3 separate regions of the Homo sapiens genome follow, and regions 1 and 2 are each linked to region 3. The links are contacts of gene promoters, found by promoter capture Hi-C in blood cells and fetal thymus (Javierre and others, 2016). All regions are on one chromosome and are shown on one strand. Each heading gives the region's core, a stretch centred on a gene start or on the middle of the fragment in contact. The rest is flanking DNA. Distances are from core to core; before and after follow the strand shown. Region 1 overlaps LOC105370656 (a long non-coding RNA gene). Region 2 overlaps LOC107987207 (a long non-coding RNA gene). Region 3 holds the start of BCL11B (BCL11 transcription factor B).

What was found. The method cuts DNA at HindIII sites, captures the fragments that hold promoters and counts their contacts. A CHiCAGO score of 5 or more calls a contact.
Region 1: a fragment that was not itself captured here is called in contact with the fragment with the promoter of BCL11B in region 3 in 1 of 17 cell types (non-activated CD4 T cells); the score reaches 7.0 in non-activated CD4 T cells.
Region 2: a fragment that was not itself captured here is called in contact with the fragment with the promoter of BCL11B in region 3 in 2 of 17 cell types (fetal thymus and non-activated CD4 T cells); the score reaches 9.6 in fetal thymus.

Annotation. Positions count from the first base shown.
Region 1 is chr14:98,215,639-98,219,493 of GRCh38, forward strand. All of the region lies in intron 1 of LOC105370656 (a long non-coding RNA gene), which reads left to right. Among named protein-coding and RNA genes, the nearest start is that of LINC02295, 82 kb to the left of the region's middle. The HindIII fragment of the contact is 466 bases long and covers 2,184-2,649 here.
Region 2 is chr14:98,199,394-98,203,286 of GRCh38, forward strand. LOC107987207 (a long non-coding RNA gene) reads right to left here. Exons shown (of 2, transcript XR_001750875.2): 2 at 2,600-3,774. Among named protein-coding and RNA genes, the nearest start is that of LINC02295, 65 kb to the left of the region's middle. The HindIII fragment of the contact is 4,979 bases long and covers 1-3,893 here.
Region 3 is chr14:99,270,898-99,274,519 of GRCh38, forward strand. BCL11B (BCL11 transcription factor B) reads right to left here and starts at 1,300. Exons shown (of 4, transcript NM_138576.4): 1 at 264-1,300. The coding sequence starts at 321. RefSeq lists silencers at 1,147-1,226, 3,511-3,622. The HindIII fragment of the contact is 13,366 bases long and covers 1-3,622 here.

The sequences.
Region 1 (3,855 bases), core at 1,167-3,666, 1.1 Mb before region 3:
GAGAGAAAAAACTGTCAGGTTATTAAATCTGCCATGTATCAGCTGTTGAAAATCCATTTTTTAAACTTTAAATTAACTGCCTGCCTAATGGAGACACCATCCCCAGCTCCCAACACCAGCCCGTCCTTTGCCGGCATGTGTTTTGTTCAGACAATGCATGATTTAGCTTCGATGTCTATGCACATGACTACATCTAGTCAGAGGGGACGATTGTATAAATATGCATGCAGTACAAATAGTTTAATTTTAATTGGGACGGAGTAGCTGATGTTGAAACCATTTGTGTAATTTTGAATATTAAGTGTGATATCAAGCATGTGACTGGGTCTATTAGATATCAAGAAAAAAAAAAGTACTTGTTTTAATTGCAGTGTGGGGCGGGAGCCTAAGTACTGGACCATGTTCTAGTCCTTCTCCTAAGTGTTATAATTTTGACCAATAGATTCTTTTTTCCAATGCTACTTTCCAATGTTACTTTCTCCCAATGCTATTGGAGGATTTTAGACCAAGGTGGTCTTTAAAGTGCTGTTCTGAAAGACTGGTGATCAAATTCTTCCTTGTGGGGAGAAAGGAGCTCTTGATGCTCACATGCAATGCTGAAGGGAGATCAAGAGCCTGTCAATATCTAAACAAAGGTTAGAATTATGAAAAAGTAAATCAAATGTAATGTAGGAAGGAAAGGCATCACATACATACACACACACACACACACACACACAGAATCACTCCCATACAAACACACACTCCACTCACATATATGATCTAAACTAGCAAAGAGCCTCCTGTATTAACATGCTACCAAAATTTAACTCTTAATTCCACCTCCCTGACCCTACCTCTAAACACATGATTTGCCCTCTAAGAGCCATGGAGGATGATGAACTGGGAAATGATCCCAGGGAGGAGAGCTTGAGCCTCATCCAGGACATCCCCCCACTCCAAAGTGGGGAATCCTCATCATGTCTGTCTGGGTTTCAGAATTGCTAAAGACTGGCGGGCACTGTGTGCTGCTTACTCTTCCCTTCTTAAATAGGAGTCCTCTTGCTTTTGTTCTTCCCTTGTCCCCATAGCACCTTTGTATTTGGGGGTGGTGGTGAGATCACAACTAACTCACATTTTTATTTTATGGGACTTCAGATGGGAGAGGGCAGTCTCCAGACTTTATATAGAGACAAAGATGACATTCTGGATTTTGAGTCCAAGATGGATTGGATAGGACTTTTGTCTTTCTTTAGGAAGGAGTGAGCATCTTGTACATGAGCAAAGGAGGAAGGTGAATACTAGAGACCAAGCGGGCAGATGAGGATAGACAGTACTACTCTGAACACATTTTCTGTCCCTTGCAGAAACACACTACTTCCCGCCACAGTAATGTCAGCCTTGACCTTGTGACTTGCTTTGGCCAGTCGAATATGAGTCGAGGTGGTGGGTGCAGCTTATGGACAGAAGTTGCTAGAATCCCTGTGTAGTTCTGCTCTCCTTCATTTTCCCCTTCTGGGAGACCAGCCTGTCCAGATGAAGAGGACACATCACAGAGCCACAGAATTCCTGTGATTCCTTGATGAACAACAATATATGTTACAAATAACCCTGCCTCTCTGTGAACCACTGTGATTTGGGGATTGTTTGTTATTCTAACATAGACTTATCTGACTGATATAAGTAGTCAATTTCTATGATGACCACCATAAATGTCCCTGTTATCAAACCTTCCCTCTCCATCCAAACGGGGGTTGCTTTCACTCAGGTCACCATCATACCCTCCCTTGAGGTTTGTGAAGGGATTCTGTGAGGTTTTCCTTCCCCTTTTCTTGTTACCCTCTGCTCCATTATCCATACTATAGCCAGAGTAATCTCTGCAAAATACAAAACCCATCCTCTCCCTTTCCCCCTGAAACCCCTTCAAAGTCTCCCTGTTCACTCTGAATAGAACCCAAACTGCTCTCTGTTTCTTCCAAATCCCTTCATTATCCAGGCCCTGCCTCTCGGTCCCTGCCATTGTCTCTCTTCACTCTGTTCCAAGCTCACGTGCGTGCCTCAGTTCTGCTCACCTTTGTATCTTTGCACACATGGCTCCATCTGTACTCCTCATTTTACGTTTGGCTCTTTCTCGTCCATTCGTTGCAACCTCACACTTTTCCTCCTCTACACATCCCTGTCTGACTGTCTCTCCCCATGGTCAAAGCTTACTGCCCTTGCTGTGGTTTTGGGCTCCCTGTGGTTGTCTCTATGCTGCCTTGTTCTAGTTTTTTGTGTTTTCTCAGGGCCACAGAACCCAGAACATAGAAGATACTCAGTGAGGTGGATGGATGGAGGAAGTATTGGGATGAGCAAAGCACCTACCATCTTTTCTAACATTTACAGAGATCCTGACCCCCAGGCAATGCTAATGCCAGAGGGATGTGAAAGCAAGTGACAATCCAAATCAGAGGGTTGAAGAGAAAATCTCTGGTCTGTCTGTCCTTGGATTCACTCTCTCCCTGTAGTCTCATCTAGAGATGCAGGGAGTAGCCTGAAAGGAGTGATTCCCTTCCTGTTTCCCTCTTTCTCCCCTTCTCTCCTGTAGCAGCCTCTTGCCTTTTACCTAGTGCATGTCCTTCAAAGAGGGGTAAGAAAGGAGAAGAGTCTAGGAGTGATAGACAAGATAAAAGCTTTAAAAAGTGGCCTCTGGGAACTCAGTGCTCTGGAACCATGTGGTCTGGGGAAGAGAACTCAGTTGGGTGACTTAACATGTCTTCAATTATGCATAAGGGCATGTGGATGCTAATCAGCAGGCGGCTGTCCTTGCTTCACAGCAAAGCCAGGGCGTGGGAGGAAACACTGACTGTGCCATGTGTGAGGGCTGCAGCTGACCCGATCGACTGGTTGACTGGTCAAGTGACATTCATTGAGGTTCCTAAGAGATGACCCCTGGACATGCCACCAAGATGTCTGGTCAGTGCCTGGGAGCAAAGGGAGTAGGCAGAGGGGATTCTTCCAAACACTATTGAAAAGACACAGAGGATTTGCAGATACAGCCATTGTTGTTTATGATTAAATATGATTATCCCAAGTTCTCCCTTGCTTGCCTTTGAGCTCAGGTCCTGCCTTGCCTGCCCTCTGGGGAAGCTGCTCCCCTTCTCTGGGTCTCTGTCTTCTCAATTACAACACGGGCATGTGAATAATAAAGAGTTAACACATTCACTGAACACTTTGTGTGTGCCGGGCACCTTTCTCAATGAACCCTCACTGCACCTCTGTGAAGAAGACATATTGTTATTTTCCTTTTATAGATGCAGAAACTGAGAGAGGTTAAGTCATTTTTCCGTGGTCGCCTGCCTAGAAAGTGCTAGTGCCAAGGCTAAAAACCAGGAATCCCATTGTCAGAGCCCATGCCCTGAGCCATTGCCTCTTAACTGCTTCTCTAATTTTTTTTTTTTTTTTTTTTGGCTAATCAGTCCATATACACGATACACTCCCTTGGTCAGCACTATTTTTCCTATTTTTGTTTGTCTTTAGCATGTCTGAACTCTGCTATATAATGCACCAGTTTGTTCTGTTACTGCTTTTTATGTCTCAGTTCACTAGGGCAGAGACCTTTATCTATTGTGTTCATTAATGTACTCTGAATACCTAAAAAGAGGTTGAGGCATAGCAGGTGCTCAATCAAATTTGAATAAATGAAGGAATGATGGTGAATTGGAACCATGATCCAAGGTAAGGCATTCCATACAATATCCGGGAATCCCATTAGAGTCTGAGAATGTCAGCCACGCTGATAAAGCCAGAGATCCCACCAACGGTCACAGGCTTATCTTCCTTCTGCCTTAAGTTTGGTCACTCTTCTTCAGCAATTCACTCCTAGAGACTGAATAT
Region 2 (3,893 bases), core at 1,160-3,659, 1.1 Mb before region 3:
TGAGTACCAAGAATATGACCAGGCATGGACCAGCAGCTGAAAACGCAGAAGATTAAAGACACGGCAAACACTCATACACATACATGCACAGATTTGTTCACACAAACACACATATATGCACATGCACACACACACACACACACACACATATGCACACGCAAACATGTCCCACCTGTGGAAACAATAGTCAACTGGGGAAGCTACCCAGCCTGCTCACTGACCACTTATTACATATGCACCCAATGCTGTGTAAGGCACTTCACTTTTTTGCAAATGTGGCTTCATTTTTTTCTCACAATTCTTTTTATCACTATATATTGTGAAATTACCATCTTGGTGTGCGTGGATGTGTTTATAGTTTTGTTCTCACCAGGTATGCATAACCTGTTGATGGAAGAGCCCTGTCTTATTAACCCTTGCATTCGTGTTCATTGATTCACCCTCAAAATGTTTATTGAATGTCTAATATAGGTCAAGCACAGGCTAAATACAGACTTGGGGATGTGATTTTTGCAAGAATAAATAAATGAATGAACACAAGATGAAGAGACTAGGGAGAGAGCAGGAGTGGAGGCGTTGGGATGAAAGTCCTTGTCATCTTCCTGAGAGGAGTTGAAGAGCTTGCACTCAGCAGAGACAAAGGGATGGAGCCTTTGAGGTGGTTTACTGTGCTGAGATCCAGCTCTCCATGAGGAACCATGGACCAGGGGCAGGCCCATCCACCCCTTTCACTATCACTATTCACATCTGTAAAGTGATAGCTGTGAGTCTCTACCCCATAAGGGTCATTGGAACATTGGAGAAGCTCTGACATGTAAAACAATTAGCCAAGTGCCTGGACATCCCCAGTAAAGTCTAGTGATTATTAAGAGTATAAATAGATGCACAAGCAGACTAAACAAGCATTTGGAAATATGTGCATTTGCATAAACATATTGGTAATTAAACAAAACAACAACAAAAAAAAAAACCAGAAGAGAGAGAATTACATAACCAAATCTCACCCTTTATGATTTTAACTCTCTTCCATCATCTGGAGAGAAGTCTTTGCAAGTTCTGCAATAGAATCTTAACCTATCATTAGAAAACTTCCTTGAAGGTTGAGGGACTCTGGCCCAGCCTCTGGAATCATTTGGATACCCCTGTGTCCGGACCCTGGCCTTTCCCACCCCTACCCTCACCACCCCCATGGAGCAGACTCTCCTTTTCCTTCAGGGCTGATAGTAAAAGACATATAGTTCCAGGTCCCCTGAGCTGGAGGGTAATCCAGCTCACCAATTACTTGAAATTAAAGTCAGGTAATTTGAACCCATCTGTTGGACACCTGACCACAAACCACCTCTTAGCTAACCCTGAGCTGGATCCGATTACTCCCCAAGTGCCTGCCCGGCTTCATTATGCCACGGCCATGGGAAGGGAGGAAACCAAGAGGTTACTGGGGTCTTCAGTTAGCGCTTTGTCATTAGCGTGGTTATTACCCGAGTCCTCCCTCCCAGCAGACTTCAAGATATGGGAGATGGGAGGGCTAGCTGGTAACCGGACCAGAGGCTCCCAGGTCTCACCAGATGGAGTGGAGCCTTCATCAGAAGGGCCAGCAAAGGGCAGGCAGCTCCCCAGACAGGAGTGGGTGGATTCCAGGAGGCCAGACTAGGACTCCGTGGCTCCATCTCAGATGTGCTACAGATGGTTCTTAGGGGCAATTATGGGGAACAGGGCAAAGCCTGGACACTGGCATCTGTAAGTCTGGGTTTGATAAATAGATCTGCCCCTTAATAGATACTGGGAAGTTTCTTGAACAACAAAGCCTCAAGTTCTTTGCCAATACAATGAAAATTGTGGAAATTAACTTAGACTGCCTTTCTAGAACCAGAGCAGACTCAGAAGTCTCCATTAAAGGGGAGTGTACCTGGACAGTGTCACGAAAGCCAAAACAGAGGGAATTCAGTCACCGGGTATTGAGGGGCTCAGGGGCAAGTACCCTGTCTCTATTCTAGGAATTGGAAATCAAAGCTCACAGAGGTTGAGCTCTGATCAAAGAAGGATGAGTAGATGGAAAATCCACTGTATAGATGCAGATGTAGCCATACCATGGGCAAGCGAATGGGGAGAAAATAGATATCAGATTCTGGAAATGTAGATAGGGATAACATTGCCTTTCTTCCACAGTGTCAGATGGATTCTCAACCCTGTGACCCCATTCTTGGTAGCAGAGTTTTCTTAGAGAAGTCTTTAATACCACAAGAATATGATTACCCATTTCTCCCAAATATGATTACATTTTCAGCTCCATTCTGCATTTTTTCCCTCTGGAAAATTGAGCATCTTATGCCCAAGAAAAAATGATAAAACTCCATTTGACTTCACTAGGGCAGAACTAAGACGGTTTTTGAACTGAAATTAAGTTGATACATTGAGAGCTTCTGTCATCGTAATACAACATCAGGAGAACAGGCAGGGAGGAGTTTATCCTAGTAGCGTCCCTCCAAAGTTCTAGTCAAGTGGAGAGGGCTTTTTGATGTATCAAAGACAGTGCTATCTTTCAAACTGCATTCATATTCTAACGTCCTATCATCATTGTAAAATAATGACAGAGCTAACATCCAACTTTTTACATGTATTTATTTATGGTTTTCAGCAGTCAAAGCAAGGAGGCACAGCCAGCTGCCTTTCACATCTGGCTCTAAATGAGCCACGGCACTGGCTCTGTCCACATTTGCTGTATCCATGGTACTGAGGTCCTGGCCTCTCCTCAGTTGGCAGCTGCACTGGCACTTCTCCTCATGGTGGCTGTCCCTCAATATTGGCAAAATACATTCAATCAAATCTGCAGGTGATTAAACTTCAGATGTCTCTGAGCTCAGCAAAGTGAGTGTCTTGATGTCAAAGACGGACAGTGCTTTAAAGCATTCCACTTCAATTTCTTCCTCACTCTCTCCCACTTCCGACATTGCTGATCAGTGGTCACCCAGCCCCTCTTTCCATTGCCCAGTTGATGGGGCGCTCACCACATCACAAGTAGCCTATCAGATCTGCTACCCTTATAAATTAAGACCTGGAGGAGTCAACACCTGCTAGTCTTCCTAACCTCAATCCATGTCACCTCCGAAAGTGCACTGATCTCCAGCCACACTGATCATATTGTCCTGAGCAATGCTAAGCTGCGTCCTGCCTCAATGATAATGAATTTGCTGCTCCCTGCCTGAGAGAGGGGCCCTTTTCATCGCTGCCCACCCCTGCCCTTTGGTGTCAGTTCAGGTGGAATCTTTTCAGGGACACCTTCCCTGACCACCTCATCTACAGTGGCTCTTACTGCCCTGGACCTCTATCCACTCCCGATCCTCTGAGCCCATCTTCATCCCCTTCATAGTACTGCCAATGTGGGAAATGATCTGGCCTATGTATGCATTAGCCTGTGTGTGACTACGTACTGTTTATGCATGTGTTTGCTTGTGCACTACCATATTCTGTTTAAGTACATGTTCACCTGTGTACAATCATATACCGTTTGTCCGTATGTACCTGCTATCTTAGTCTGTTTTGTGCTGCTATAATAGAGCACCACAGACTGGGTGATTTATAAAGAACATAAATCTATTTCTCACAGTTTTGGAGGCTGGGAGATCCAACATCAAGATTCCTATAGGTTTGGTGTCTGTTAAGGGCCTGGTCTCCACTTCCAAGGTGGTGCCTCGTTGGTGCATTTTCAGGGAAAGGAACTCTGTGTCCTCACATGATCCAAGAGCAGAAGAGAAGGGCAAACTCATTCCTGCAATCCTTTTGTATAGAAGCATTAATTTATTAATGAGGGCAGAGACCTCATGACCTAAACACTTTCCATTAGGCTACACCTCCCAACGTGATTACAATGGGGATTAAGTTTCAACATGAGTTTT
Region 3 (3,622 bases), core at 50-2,549:
CCCTCCCCGGCCCGGAGCCGGCTCCGCAGGCCCCCGAGCCCGAGGCGCGTCCGGCTGCTCGGCGCCCCAACTCCCCGGGCTGCAAAGAAACTTTCCTATGGCCCCCGCCCCCCGCCATGCTCCAGGCCGACGCCGTAGACTCTGCCAGCCAGCGGGCGGCCCCGGCGCCTGGCCAGGCTCGGCTGTTCCGGGCTCGGTGTCCCCAGCCCCAGACGCCCGGAGCCCCATCTCCGGCCCCTCGCGCGCACTCCGCAGACACTTACGGGTGATGAGCTCCCTCTGGGACAAGTGCTGCGGGTTGCCCTGTTTGCGGCGGGACATTGCCCCGGCATCTATTCTGGCATCGCCCGGAGAGCTGCACTGATGGGGGGAGCCGGGGGAGGGGGTCCGAGCCGCCGCCGCGCCGCTGCCGCCGCTGCCGCCGCCGCCGCCGCCGCCGCACCTCCTCCTCTGCCCGGGTTGGTGTTTTTTTTCCCTTCCTCTCTTTCCCTCTCTTCCTCCTCTTCTTCTTCTTTATTTTGCTCTTTCTTCTATGCTGTTTTTTGTTTTGTTTGCAAAAAGAAAAAAAAGGGAAGAAAAGCAAGAAAAACCTCTCGATCTAAAATAAGAAAAAGAGGCAAAAAAAAAAAAAACTGCTGTTGCTTTCCGCGGACTGGCTGGTTTCTTTAAAAATATATTCTTTCGAAGGAAAAAAAATCTCTTACACTTCTTCAAACTGCTTGGCCTCTTGCACTTGCAAATGTCTTCTTGAACTTAAACTGGGTTTTGCACCGGCTCCTGACACTTTCTTTCAGGGTCTGGTAGGTGGAAAGCGCACTTCTACCAGGAGGGGAAAAAAAATGCAAACAAATAAAAAAATAAAAGAAGAAAAAGCAAAGGAAAAAAAAAAGCAAAGAAAACTTGGGGACTTGTCTCGTACCCCCTCACCCCGCCCCCTCAAAAAACCCAAAGCAATGTAAAACTGCCCCGGTTCGGTTGTTTCTGGGTTTTCTGCGGGCTGCCTGTTTTTGTTTTTGTTTTTGTTTTTTCTCGGAGACTGACCCTTCCGAGGCTCTGGGGGGACACCAGGAGAGGCTCCTTCCCAGTTCACCTGGCAGGCTGGCGCCGGCCGGAGGGGCTGCCGAGTCCCCGCGAGCGCTCCCCAGCGCTCCCCTGGCGCCGCGGGCCCGGGGGGAGCGGGGCGGAGGGGCGGCTCGCCCAGTGCGCCTGGGTCGGTGCGGGCGCAGACTGGGAGCTATAGATTGCAACGTGAAGATGGCGGAGTCCGGGTTCTCTGGGAGCTCTCGGTCTCTCTATGGCTGGGGCTGCCTCTGTACAATGGGATAAAATTCAAGTTCAAGTGCGGACGTGACGTTTAATCTGCACTAGAGACAAAAAGACCCAGAGAGTCGGAGCACTGGGGGCGACTAGCGGTGGCTTTTTAACATTGTACCCTGTAAGAGAACAAGAAAGCACACACAGAGACACACTCGCGCGCGCGCGCACACTCACACACACACACACACAGTCGCCAGTTGCGCACACCCGCAGCCCAAGCCGGACACACGTGCAAACCGCGTTTTTGTGCGCTCATCTCCCCCGAGCCCCGGCTGCGCAACAGCGGGAGGGGGTTGGGGGGGGCCACTGGGCAGCTTATTTTAAAATAAAAGAAAAATCGTCCTTATATCTCCTCCATCCTGGGAGCAGGACCCCCTGAGAAGGGGGGCGGGGTGCTGTGTGAGTGAACTAAATTGAATCAATGCAAGTCTCCACCCACCCAAAAGCTCTTTCGGACTTGGACTTTGGGGGTGGGGGCGTGGACTGTGGAAAAGGGTTGGGGTCGACATGGGAGTTGGGGGGACAGTAAGAATCGCTTCGTTTCCCTGGAAAAGTCGCTTGGTAGTTTTTACTTTTGTTTTATGGTCGCGGGCGGCGAGGGGAGGGGAGTAGATGTTGGAGTTCAACTTCCAAAAAGTGTCTCCATATAAATCCTGGTATTACAGACTCTGGGAGGGTGAGGATGACAAAATAAACGACACTAAGACAACAGAATCAAGAGCACGTGAGGGGGTGAGAAGTGTTTGAGACCTTGTTTGAGTCCCACTTGGAAAAGGATTTTCACTCAAATCTTTGTCCCCTCCCCTCACCTTACCCCGATTAACTCCTGGGGTCAAACACGACCCCACCTCCTAAACTGGGTCTATGGCAAGCGAGAGGGTAAAGGGACCGGGGCGCTCCACGTGGGAGAGGGACTTGGACTTGCCAGCCCAGGAGTAGGTGTGGCCAAATCTCCGCAGATACTCGGGTGGGTGACTCCAGGAGGCGCCCCTGACAATCACAGCAACCTGGAAGTCACACCCCGCCCCCCGCGCTCCTCGGCCCAGGGTAGGACTTGGAAATGCCTGTCAGACTGGGAAGGACGCAGCTGCCTTGTCAGCCGTTTGATCTCCAACCGGCGAGGACAAGAGGAGTTGTGGGGCCTCTCCGTGGCCCGGGGACAAGGCCAGACCACGGCCCCCGTGGACACCCCCCATTCCCCAGGCTGTGGCCAACTTTGTCAATTTGATGACCTGGCCTCCAGGGCTGGGCGCGCCACGCGGCTGGCCTCCTCTCCCTTCTCAGGGTTTCTCTGGAGGCGGCCAGGGCGGGTCGGGGCCTGGCTCCGGCTAGGCTTCGCGGGCGAGTCCAGCTGCACCCACCCCACTCCGCCCCCAGGCCTGGCTCCGGCGGCTTCACCCGGGCGCATGGCGAGGCCGTGACGCCTCAGCGCCGCCTCCCTCGGGGCCTTTTCCTCGGGGGGCACACGGGGGTTTTTGTTTTCGTCCCGAAGGTCTTGGGTGGGGCGATGGCACCAACAATTTAACAGCGCCCAGAGTCCGTGAGCGAGAACAGAAAGAGATCCCTTCCAGTCCCATACCCTAAAAAATAATAACAATAAAATGTGCCCTGGCTTGCAGTTCTGTAAACTGTGGGCTCCACGGTGGGCGGACGCGAGGCCGAGCGGATGGAGACCGGGGGCGGGGCGCGGACTTGCACCTCCTCGCCCTGGCCGGGCAGGCTGCACCCGGCTGCCCACCCCCAACACCCCACCTCCACGTGGTCCAAAGTCTAGTAGGGCCTCCCTCTTCTGCCATCCCTCTCACCGGGAAAATCTTTCCAGGAAAGTGGCTTAAAAAAAATATGCCCACACGCACCTTTAATAAACTTCTTTAAGACATTCATAAACTGGCCATCCCTACTCGCCCGGACTCTAAATTTGAAAGATCAACTCGCGCTCTCTTTCTGAGAACTAGCGATGTGAAGCCCAGAGAGGGTGAGCACTTTGCCCTAGGACACACAGCGCGTCAGGGACAGGTCTGGACCCAAAACACCGCGGCGTGCCTGCAGCCCAGCGCCGCCGGCGGTCCGGGACTCGAAATCCCGACCCACGACCCTCACCTTCCTGGGGTTGATTACAAGGAAGGCAGACCCCGCCAGTGGCAAGGCGGGACGGGGAGGACCCCTCAGGAAAAGGGAGCCCCTCCGCGAGCGGCGCAAGGGCTCTCGGAGTCCCAGCTGCAGCCGCCACCCCGCGTGCGGTAAGGGGCCGTGCCTGGGGAGGGGGCACCCCCTCCCCACTCCCAGCAGGAAGTAGCTGGCGTGG